Regions from separate parts of the Homo sapiens genome. Here all the other regions are linked to region 2. The links are contacts of gene promoters, found by promoter capture Hi-C in blood cells and fetal thymus (Javierre and others, 2016). All regions are on one chromosome and are shown on one strand. The core of a region is centred on a gene start or on the middle of the fragment in contact, and the rest is flanking DNA. Distances in the headings are between cores, read along the strand shown. Region 1 overlaps DHRS4-AS1 (DHRS4 antisense RNA 1). Region 2 holds the start of AP1G2 (adaptor related protein complex 1 subunit gamma 2). Region 3 holds the start of BCL2L2 (BCL2 like 2).

Evidence for each region. The method cuts DNA at HindIII sites, captures the fragments that hold promoters and counts their contacts. A CHiCAGO score of 5 or more calls a contact.
Region 1: a fragment that was not itself captured here is called in contact with the fragment with the promoter of AP1G2 in region 2 in 1 of 17 cell types (total CD8 T cells); the score reaches 5.4 in total CD8 T cells.
Region 3: a contact is called between the fragment with the promoter of BCL2L2 here and the fragment with the promoter of AP1G2 in region 2, in 2 of 17 cell types (megakaryocytes and erythroblasts). The highest score is 6.2, in megakaryocytes.

Annotation. Positions count from the first base shown.
Region 1 is chr14:23,947,089-23,950,589 of GRCh38, reverse strand. The region is part of intron 1 of DHRS4-AS1 (DHRS4 antisense RNA 1); the gene reads left to right. Among named protein-coding and RNA genes, the nearest start is that of DHRS4, 4.9 kb to the left of the region's middle. The HindIII fragment of the contact is 7,541 bases long and covers 1-3,501 here.
Region 2 is chr14:23,566,358-23,569,780 of GRCh38, reverse strand. AP1G2 (adaptor related protein complex 1 subunit gamma 2) reads left to right here and starts at 1,990. Exons shown (of 22, transcript NM_003917.5): 1 at 1,990-2,042; 2 at 2,462-2,670; 3 at 3,095-3,219; 4 at 3,362-3,423. The coding sequence starts at 2,467. It overlaps JPH4 (junctophilin 4), which reads left to right. Exons shown (of 6, transcript NM_001146028.2): 6 at 64-1,743. The coding sequence ends at 147. AP1G2-AS1 (AP1G2 antisense RNA 1) reads right to left here. Exons shown (of 4, transcript NR_110555.1): 3 at 2,359-3,423; 4 at 1,705-2,092. RefSeq lists silencers at 799-898, 1,888-1,937 and enhancers at 2,418-2,657, 2,688-2,777. The HindIII fragment of the contact is 3,957 bases long and covers 1-2,489 here.
Region 3 is chr14:23,305,264-23,308,649 of GRCh38, reverse strand. BCL2L2 (BCL2 like 2) reads right to left here and starts at 1,817. Exons shown (of 4, transcript NM_004050.5): 1 at 1,756-1,817; 2 at 1,371-1,458; 3 at 451-890. The coding sequence starts at 882. It overlaps BCL2L2-PABPN1 (BCL2L2-PABPN1 readthrough), which reads right to left and starts at 1,817. Exons shown (of 8, transcript NM_001387346.1): 1 at 1,756-1,817; 2 at 1,371-1,458; 3 at 451-890. The coding sequence starts at 882. RefSeq lists an enhancer at 125-958. The HindIII fragment of the contact is 2,126 bases long and covers 445-2,570 here.

The DNA of each region.
Region 1 (3,501 bases), core at 536-3,035, 380 kb before region 2:
CAGTCATGCAAGCCTGCACTAAGCCAAGCAGCTGACTGACAACTACCCCCTTCTCCCTATCTCCTTTACTCAATAAATACAAAGGGCTATAGAAGCTCAGGGCCCTTCTTCACTAGAAGCAAGGAGCCTCCTGACCCCTTCTTCCAAAATACTCTTTTGTCTTTGTCTTTATTCCCACATTCATCTTCTTTTGTTAAGTCCACCAAGGACTGTGGCATTTTAACTTCTTCTTCTTTTTTTTTTTTTACTTTGTGACAGAGTTTTGCTCTGTCGCCAGGCTGGAGTGCAGTGGCACAATCTCAGCTCACTGCAACCTCTGCCTCCTGGGTTCAAGTGATTCTCCTGCCTCAGCCTCCCAAGTAGCTGGGACCACAGGTGCATACCACCTCACCCAGCTAATTTTTGTATTTTTAGTAGAGACGGGGTGTCACCATGTTGGCCAGGATGATCTCGATCCCTTGACCTAGTGATCTTCCTGCCTTGGCCTCCAAAAGTGCTGGGATAGCAGGCGTGAGCCACTGCACCCAATTAGGTGTTTTAAATTCTCTATGTGAAATCAGAGTGACTGATGACAACCTTGACCACTGTGTGTGTTGCATAGTTACACTTCAGTTTTCTGGCATTGTTGGGCAATCCATAGTTTTCATAGAAATCAATTTTCTCTCAACTGGAATTTAAACTTTCAGGATCAGTGTGTTTTTCAAATCAACACATCTACTCATTAAATTATATAAATAACACATTATTTTAAAAAGGGACAGAAAATTATTTGAAAAGTAAAAGGTAACTCTTCCCTATGGTTCTTTTACCTTCTTCCCATATAGCTCTTGGCTTTGTGTATCCTTCCAGAAGTTTCCTGTACATTTACATGCATTTTTCTTTTAAAAATTTTTTCCACAATTGAAATGACACTATACATACTGTCCTTCAAATTTCTTTTCTTTTCTTTCTTCTATGCTCCAATCCCCACTTTTTAATTTCTTTTTTTAAATAATTATACTTTAAGTTCTGAGATACACTTGCAGAATGTGCAGGTTTGTTACACAAGTGTACATGTGCCATGGTGGTTTTCTGCACCCATCAACCCATCATCTACATTAAGTATTTCTCCTAATGCTATCCCTCCCCTAGCCCCCCACCCCCCTGAAAAGGCCATGGTGTGTGATATTGCCCTCCCTGTGTCCATGTGTTCTCATTGTTCAACTTCCACTTATGAGTGAGAACGTGCAGTGTTTGGTTTTCTGTTCTTTCATTAGTTTGCTGAGAATGACGGTTTCCAGCTTCATCCAGGTCTTTGCAAAGGACATGAACTCATCATTTTTTATGGCTGCATAATATTCCATGGTGTATATGTGCCACATTTTCTTTTTCCAGTCTATCATTGATGGGCATTTGGGTTGGTCCAAGGTTTTTCTATTGTGAACAGTGCTGCAATAAACATATATATGCATGTGTCTTTATAGTAGAATGATTTATAATCCTTTGGATATATACCCTGTAATGGGATTGCTGGGTCAAATGGTATTTGTAGTTCTAGATCCTTGTGGAATGGCCACACTGTCTTCCACAATGGTTGAACTAATTTACACTCCCACCAACAGTATAAAAGCGTTCCTATTTCTCCACATCCTCTCCAGCATCTGTTGTTTCCTGACATTTTAATGATTGCCATTCTAACTGGTGTGAGATGGTATCTCATTGTGGTTTTGATTTGCATTTTTCTAATGAGCAGTGATGATGAGCATTTTTTCATGTTTCTTGGCTGCATAAATGTTTTCTTTTGAGAAGTATCTGTTCACATTCTTAGCCCACTTTTTGATGGTTTTTTTTTCTTGTAAATTTAAGTTTTTTGTACATTCTGGATATTAGCCCTTTGTCAGATAGATAGATTGCAAAAATTTTCTCACATTCTGTAGGTTCTCTGTTCACTCTAATTATAGTTTCTTTTGGTGTACAGAAGCTCTTTAGTTTAATTAAGTCCCATTTGTCTATTCTGGCTTTTTTTGCTGTTGCTTTGGGTATTTTAGTCGTGAAGTCTTTGCTCATGCCTATGTCCTGAATGGTATGTCCTAGGTTTTCCTCTAGGGTTTTTATGGTTTTAGGTCTTATGTTTAAGTCTTTAATCCATCTTGAGTTAATTTTTTTATAAGGTGTAAGGAAGGGGTCCAGTTTCAGTTTTCTGCATATGGCTAGCCAGTTTTCCCAACACCATTTATTAAATAGGAAATCTTTTCCTTATTGCTTGTTTTTGTTAGGTTTGTCAAAGATCAGATGGTTGTAGATGTGTGGTGTTGTTTCTGAGGCCTCTGTTCTGTTCCATTGGTCTAGATATCTGTTTTGGTACCAGTACCATGCTGTTTTGGTTACTGTAGCCTTGCCGTATAGTTTGAAGTGAGGTAGCATCATGCGTCCAGCTTTGTTCTTTTTGCTTAGGATTGTCTTCATTATATTGGCTCTTTTTTGGTTCCATATAAAATTCAAAGTAGTTTTTTCCAATTCTGTGAAGAAAGTCAATGGTAGCTTGATGGGGATAGCATTGAATCTATAAATTACTTTGGGCAGTATGGCCATTTTCACGATATTGATTCTTCCTATCCATGGGCATGGAATGTTTTTCCATTTGTTTGTGTCCTCACTTATTTCCTCGAGCAGTGTCTGTATTTCTCCTTGAAGAGGTCCTTCACATCCCTTGTAAGTTGGATTCCTAGGTATTTTATTCTCTTTGTAGCAATTGTGAATGGGAGTTCACTCATGATTTGGCTCTCTATTGTCTGTTATTGGCGTATAGGAATGCTTGTCATTTTTGCACATTGATTTTGTATCCTGAGACTTTGCTGAAGTTGCTTATCAGCTTAAGGAGATTTTGGGCTGAGACGATAAGGTTTTCTAAATATACAATCATGTCATCTGCAAACAGAGACAATTTTACTTCCTCTCTTCCTGTTTGAATACCTTTTATTTCTTTCTCTTTCCTGATTGCCCTAGCCAGAACTTCCAATACTATGTTGAATAGGAGTTGTAGTTGTGAGAGGGCATCCTTGTCTCGTGCCTTTTTTCAAAGGGAATGCTTCCAGTTTTTGCCCATGCAGTATGATACTGGCTGTGGCTTTGTCATAAATAGCTCTTATTATTTAGAGATACATCCCATCAATACCTAGTTTATTGAGAGTTTTTAGCATGAAGGGGTGTTCAATTTTATCGAAGGCCTTTCTGTATCTAAATAATTAATCATGTGGTTTTTATCATTGGTTCTGTTTATGTGATTGATTACGTTTATTGATTTGCATATGTTGAACAAGCCTTGCATCTCAGGGATGAAGTCGGCTTGATCATGGTGGATAACCTTTTTGATGTGCTGCTGGATTCGTTTTGCCAGTATTTTATTGAGGGTTTTTGCATTGATTTTCATCTGGGATATTGGCCTAAAATTCTCTTTTTTTTGTTGTGTCTCTGCCAGGCTTTGTTTTCAGGATGATACTGACCTAATAAAATGAGTTAGGG
Region 2 (3,423 bases), core at 741-3,240:
TCAGGGCAGGAAGGTGGGCCCTGTCCTCGGGGACTGAGTCTGCTTCCCCCTCTGTCTCTCTAGGGAGCTGCCAACCCCCTGGTGGTGGGAGCCGTGGCCCTCCTGGACCTCAGCCTGGCATTCCTGTTCTCCCAGCTCCTCACCTGAGGCTACTTCCTGGCCTGGTTCTGGCTTTGGTTGCGTGCCTCTTCACCCCTTTGACCTGCCTTTTTTCTCTTCTCCTCTTCCTGGCTGTGTTTTCTCCTATCTTTCTTTCTCTTCTTCCTTTCTTTTCTGTGCTCCTTTGTTTTTTTCTCTCGCTTTTTCTTTCCCTGTCTTCTTTCAGATTATCTCATTTCTTCTGGATCTGTCTCTGTATTCCTCACTCCCTTCCCCATCCCAACCCCTTCTTTCTCTAGATTGTTTACATATGAAGGGCTTTTCTCTCTCAGAGTTGCTGTCTTCTCTGAGACACACAAATCTAAGTCAGACCATTGCTCCACGCCCTCCCACCTTTTCTTTAGACCTCAACTTCGCTGCGGGTGGGGGTTTGGTGTCCTAAGGAGACTCCTGGAAGCTGAATGGAGAGGAGGAAGAAAATGAAGAAGGAGTGATTGAATGTCGGGCAAGGCACTGGCTGAGCTGCTGTGGCTCCCTAGCCTAAGGGGCCTGCTGTCCCTCTGAGGCCTAGTGAAAAAGCTGCAGGAGGTGCATCCTCCACCTCTAATCTTGGAGGCTATTATCTTACCTCCAAGCACTGAGCTGGGTTACTGCCCAATTCCATCCTTCCCTGAAGGAGAGAAGGGAAGTGAAAAGTAGAGTAACTCCCCAGCATTTCCCTCTTTTTCTCCTCATCGGCCAGCCCCTCCTCCAGCCCCCTCTGGTGGCATGCCATGCCAAGAGCAACGTGTAAAGGAACAGAGAATATCCAATGCAGTCAAGTCCACCCTGCCCAGACTTTGCCACTGACTTCTCCCACCCTTCTGTCTCCCCCATAATAGTTTATTTGGTTGGTCTGGACTCACTTGTGGCCTTTGATTAAATTCCTAAGGGGCCTGAAGAAGACATTTCTACTGCAGAGGGTTAGAGGCACTTGAGCAAGGCCCCCACATCCCAACTCTGGGAGTTGTGGTGGGAGGAGGCACTTCTGGGGGATAGGACCAGACAAGATAACAGGAGCTCACATGGAAGCAGAAGCTGTGACAAGTTTAGTAGTCCCAAAATGGGTTATATCCCTTCCCCCTTTACATCAGAATCTTGTGAAATGGGAAAACAACAGAAGGAGGGGATCAAAGATAGCTGATCTCACATGCTTCCCAGGCAGGGCAGAGGTGGGAGTCAAACCCGGGTGACAGGTGGGTGGAGAGCCCTGTTTGAGGTTGTGGCTGATCCCTCTCTGGTATTAGTTTTTCCCCTGGGAGCAGGAAGCCCTAGGAAGAGGGGACTGCAGGGTCCCCAGGGGATCTTTCCTCCCTCCCCTGCATGAGGCAGAGGCAAGCTGCCTGCCAACCCCCTCCCTCAAGGAATGGCCTTGCCCAGGAATGCCCACCACACATACCCTCTTCTTTTTTTCTAGTCAAACTCTTGTTTATTCCTTGGCTTGCCTCCCTCCTTCCTCCCCTCTCAACCTTTACTTCTGATTTCTATTTCATGGAATTTGGGATTGAAGTTAAACTACAACAGTGCCGCCAACACCAAGTCTTGCAGGAAAAAAATACAAAGAAATTTAACAAAAAAAATATATTAATAAAAAAGTTCAAAAAAGGGGGGGGATTGTCATCTCCTTTGGGGTGCGATGGCTTCAAATCCAAACTGAGGCTCTCCGGGTGGTAAGGATGTGCGAGGAGGCCTCTTGAAGAACTCCAGGCCTATCATGCTGTCTCTCCGCTAAAGCCTGAGGCCCGAGGTCAGAGGATTCAGGAAGGCTCTGCAGTCGGCCCAGGAGGGCGGGGTCCCGTGGTGGAGGCGGGGAGAGGGAAGGACCGCACGGAGCACCAACCCCTGCTCGGCCCCGTACCAGGAAGCGCTGGGGGGCAGAGGAGCGGAGTTGAGGCAGAAGCCAGGTGAGGCTGGAGTCCTGGGGTAGGCAGGCTGTCGCTGCCGCTGCCGCTGCCTGAGATGGAAATCGGGGGAGGAAGCTCGCGGAAGAAACAGCGGAGGGTCGTGGAAAAAAAAGCAATGGCTGAGCTAGGGATGGGGTACCAGGTAGGGGGAGGAAACGGTAGAGAGAAATAGGTGGGGCTCCCGCGCATGCTCAATAGGAAGGGGCGCCGGTGGGGTGCGGACGCATGCGTAGTGGGCTTCTCGGGCGGTGGGGTGGGCGCGGAATTTGGAGACCCACTTCGGGAAAGGTAAAATGCGGGCGCAATTTTAGGGTACCTGTGGGACCCGGGCTCTTAGGGTCTTGACACAGGACGGGCCTGGGCCGAAAGCCCAGGCACGCCCGACCAGAGAGTGTTTCTCCACTCCCGGACTCTGCCAGTCAGGATGGTGGTGCCTTCGCTGAAGCTTCAGGACCTCATCGAAGAGATTCGCGGGGCCAAGACTCAGGCCCAGGAGCGGGAGGTGATCCAAAAGGAGTGTGCCCACATCCGGGCCTCCTTCCGCGACGGGGACCCAGTGCACAGGCACCGGCAGCTGGCCAAACTGCTCTACGTCCACATGTTGGGCTACCCCGCCCACTTTGGACAGGTACTGGCCAGGAATACCTCCCTCCTGAGCTTGATGAAGGCTAGTGGGGCAGAGTCCCAGACTCTCTCACCTGTTTATGCCCTGGTTTTTTAAATTCTACAATTTCAGAGTCTTCACAGCCTGCACTGCAAACCTCTTTCCCCATTGCTACCCCTACTGGTCATCAGCTGGCCTGAACCCTTCATTCTCTGGCCAGCCTCCTTTAGGGCAGGCATCTCCTCCTCTCCGCTCCCATCCTCCTCAACTCCTAGTTCCTCCTACCCACTAACGCCTGAATTTCCTAAGCTTCTCCTCTTGTTGAAGGGAGAGTGATGAGATATGATGCCCCACAGGTTAATCTGGTTTTAAAGAGGAAGATGGAACAGGGATGTGAGTGTCTATGGTTTCACCCCTGCCTCTTCCTGGTCTGCCCCCTTCACTATAGATGGAGTGCCTGAAACTGATCGCCTCCTCCAGATTCACAGACAAGAGGGTGGGCTACCTGGGGGCCATGCTTCTATTGGATGAGAGGCACGATGCCCACCTGCTCATTACCAACAGCATCAAGAAGTGAGAGGGTTCTGGCAATCACTTGGAATCAGGGAGATGGGAGAGTAGGGACCTTGGAAATCCCAGGGGACTGCCTGTTGTGGGTATTGAAAAGGACTGATTTTCTCAGAGGTTTGACTGACCGTCCTCCCAAACCCTGCAGTGACCTGAGCCAGGGGATTCAGCCAGTACAAGGCCTGGCCTTGTGCACTTTGAGCACCATGG
Region 3 (3,386 bases), core at 568-3,067, 260 kb after region 2:
TCCCCCCAGGTGCACCCCCACCCTGAGAGACTGGTTCATCTGCCCACTCTGCCTCCAGTGAATTCCATCCTTTCCTTGGCGAAAAATTCTGCTCAGAACTAGCATCCTTTGCCAAGGCTTGCCTGACCACCACCCATCCCTGGTCCTCCCCACCTCCCACGCCATGACTCAGATGTAAAAAGTCCCTGACAACATTCCCCTGCAGGCACTCCTTGGGTGTGTATTCTGTCCTCTGCTTGGGACCATGAGCCCATCCAGTGTTGACTGCATGGCAGCCCTGGAGTGCAGAGTCCAGGCATCTCTCAATCTAATTCCATCCAGACGGGGAGACTCAGCCCCGTACCTCATTCCCAACATAGCTGCCTCAGCCTCCAATCAGAGCCCCCATCTTCCCCCTGGAGACCAGCTTTGCAGAAGGATGTGCAGAGCGGCAATTGAGAAGCTTCTTACCCAGCCCCCACTGCTGTGGATCCAGTCAGCCAGCTGCGTCTCCAGGTAGGCCACCATCCACTCCTGCACTTGTCCCACCAGTGGTTCCATCTCCTTGTTGACACTCTCAGCACACAGTGCAGCCCCAAAGACAAAGAAGGCTACAAGGCGGCCCCAGTTGGGGCCCCCTTGAAAAAGTTCATCGGAGACCTGGGTGAAGCGTTGTTGGGCTGAGCCTGGGGTCACATGCAGCTGAGCCGCCAGATCAGAGAAGGTGCGCCGGAAGCGGGTCTCGAACTCATCTCCAGCTGCCCGCATGGCTTGGTGCAGCGGGTCAGCTGCTGGGCCCTCCCCGGGGCCAGCTCCACAGACATAACCCTTCTGCCTCAGCTTATAACCTACAAAGTCTGCCACCAGAGCCCGTGTGTCTGGGGCCGAGGCTGGGGTCGCCATCCGGGCGGCTATAAGAGGCAAGGATGAAAGACTGGCATGAATATATGAAGAGAGAATCAGAAGGAGCACTTCTGGTTTGACCAACCCAGTGAGATGAGGAGGAGAGAGGAAATGCTCAGGACTCACTGGACAGGGAGAGGCAAGAACAAGGGAATTAAGTCATGATATGAGACTAGGCTGTGAGTGGCTGGCCATTACATTCCTAATATGCCAAATTAAATGTAAAACAAGTAAATTTTCTGTTTAGGATACTTTAGATTCTTTTCACAATAAGACAACGTCAGCTCAATGACACCCCTACAACACCCCCACCCCCGGGTCTCCTTAGTCCACACCTTCTTGGCTAGAGGAAGGGTCTTAGGACCTCCCCAAATGCAAGATGTAAAGATGTTGGCAGAGACACAAGATGAGGGGGAGCAGATGGGCTGAAGAGAAAGGTGGGAGACGCAATGGGTTACTCCAGACAGAGAAAGGAAGGAGACACTCACCCAGCCGGGATGGCAGCTCTTAAGACACAGCACTGGTGGCAAGGAGCCCCCAGCTGGGGCCTTTCATCCTCCTGGCCAGCGTGGAGCCCTGGAAAGGGGAGGGGGAGATCAGAACCAGGAGGGGAAGGCCAGGGATCAGGTTCTGGCCTGGGAAGGGCTAGGGTTGCAGCTCTGGGCCTAGGCCCCTGCCCCCAACGCTCTACCAGCTGTGTGGCCGAATCCATGTTTAATGACTGTCCTCCCGGGAAACCCAAGGCCAAGGGCTTCCTGCCGACACCATCTCTATTCCCGGTTCCCCCTAGTGCAGCCCAAAGGCCCAGCTCCTCCCTTACCCCCACCTCAGCCAGTCTCCAACCCCGCCCGCCTGCCAGGTTAGGGATCTCACGGGTCAGGCCGCTGCCGGGATCCGGGCCGTTTCCTGGTGCAGGAGCTGGGAGGGAGGGAGAGAGGGAGGAAGGGAGGGAAGGAAGGAGGGAGGAGAAAGGGGGGGGCAGAGGGAGGGCCCGGCGCCGGGTGATGATGGGGCCCAGAGATGCGTCCAGAGAGAGGGGCGGGGCTGGGACGCAGGCCTGCAAAGGGCCACTACTCAGGAAGAGGGAGGGCTGCTGAAGGCAAAGAAGGGCTGGCTGAGAGGGCACGGTGGGCTGGGCTGGGCTGGGCTCCTGAGCCTCTAGGCTGCCCAGAGAAATATGCCGGACTTCGGGACATCTCGGGGCAAATTTAGCATTTTCAGGAGGTTTCCGATGTTCCATGCACTTGTTGAACTTTTCCAGCCCTGAACTGTGTGCCTGGAAAACAGGAGCAGTTCCCATTAAGCTGGGAACCGTCTACCAGGTGCCTTACCCTTATGGGGCTAGCAGACACCACATAGACACCAAACCTTTCCCATCTTTTCTCCAGGACCTTTAACCCAGTGTTCTCTTTGTGGGCTGGGCTTCAGCCAGGCATTAGGGAGCCAGGACTTGGATCACAAGCAGTTTCTCTCGGTACTTTTCTTTAATTCATCTTCTTTTGTAATTAGATTGATTTTAGTGGGGTTTTTTTCTTTTTCTTTTTTTTACCCAACACACAAACTCATTCTCATTATGAAAAAAATCAAACAATAAAGACGTGCGGAGTAATAAAATACAGGTTCTCAAACACACACACACATACACACCCAATTCCACTTCCCTCCCTGCAGGTTGCCAGTGTTAAGCTTGATGTTTATCCTTCCAGATTACATATATATGGGGCCATTATTTATACATGGCAGTATATTTATACAGGGCAGGTCACAGGCGTGAAGCAGTCTGACCATAGCTGATCCACATGAGGGCACTCACAGCCAGCCCCCTGGGCTCTTGGATCTGGCACTTTTTTAAAGAGTGCCCCAACCAAAGGCCAGAAAGAGGCAACCTAATTCTCCTATTCTGCTAGCTCCCTTTGCTTCTACCTCCAATCCAAGCCTCTGTATTACCATCTTCCCTTATGGTCACTGGAGAAGCAAGGTCTTTTCTGCAGCAATAACAGTAACAACTAGCTGGGTTCGGTGGCTCATACCTGTAATCCCAACACTTTGGGAGGCCAAGGCGGGTGGATCACTTGAGGCCAGGAGTTCGAGACCAGCCTGACCAACATGGCAAAACCCCATCTCTACTAAAAATACAAAAATTAGCCAGACGTAAAATACAAAAATTAGCCAGCCTGTAATCCCAGCTGCTCAGGAGGCTGAGGCATGAGAATCACTTGAACCCAGGAGGCTGAGATCATGCCACTGCACTCCAGACTGGGTGATAGAACGAGACTCTATCTCAAAAAAAAAAAAAGGTAAAAACTAACATATTTTGAGGAGTTATTAGATGCTGTGCTTTTTTTACATGTGTATTTTTTCCTCTCACCAGTCCTTATGCTGTTTTATCCTCATTCTATGAATGAGGAAATTGAGGTTTGGAGAGGTTAAGTGATTTTCCCAAAGCCATAGGCTGATATGTAAGAAGCTAGCACAGCCATCTCATGCTGTAACTTTGACACTAT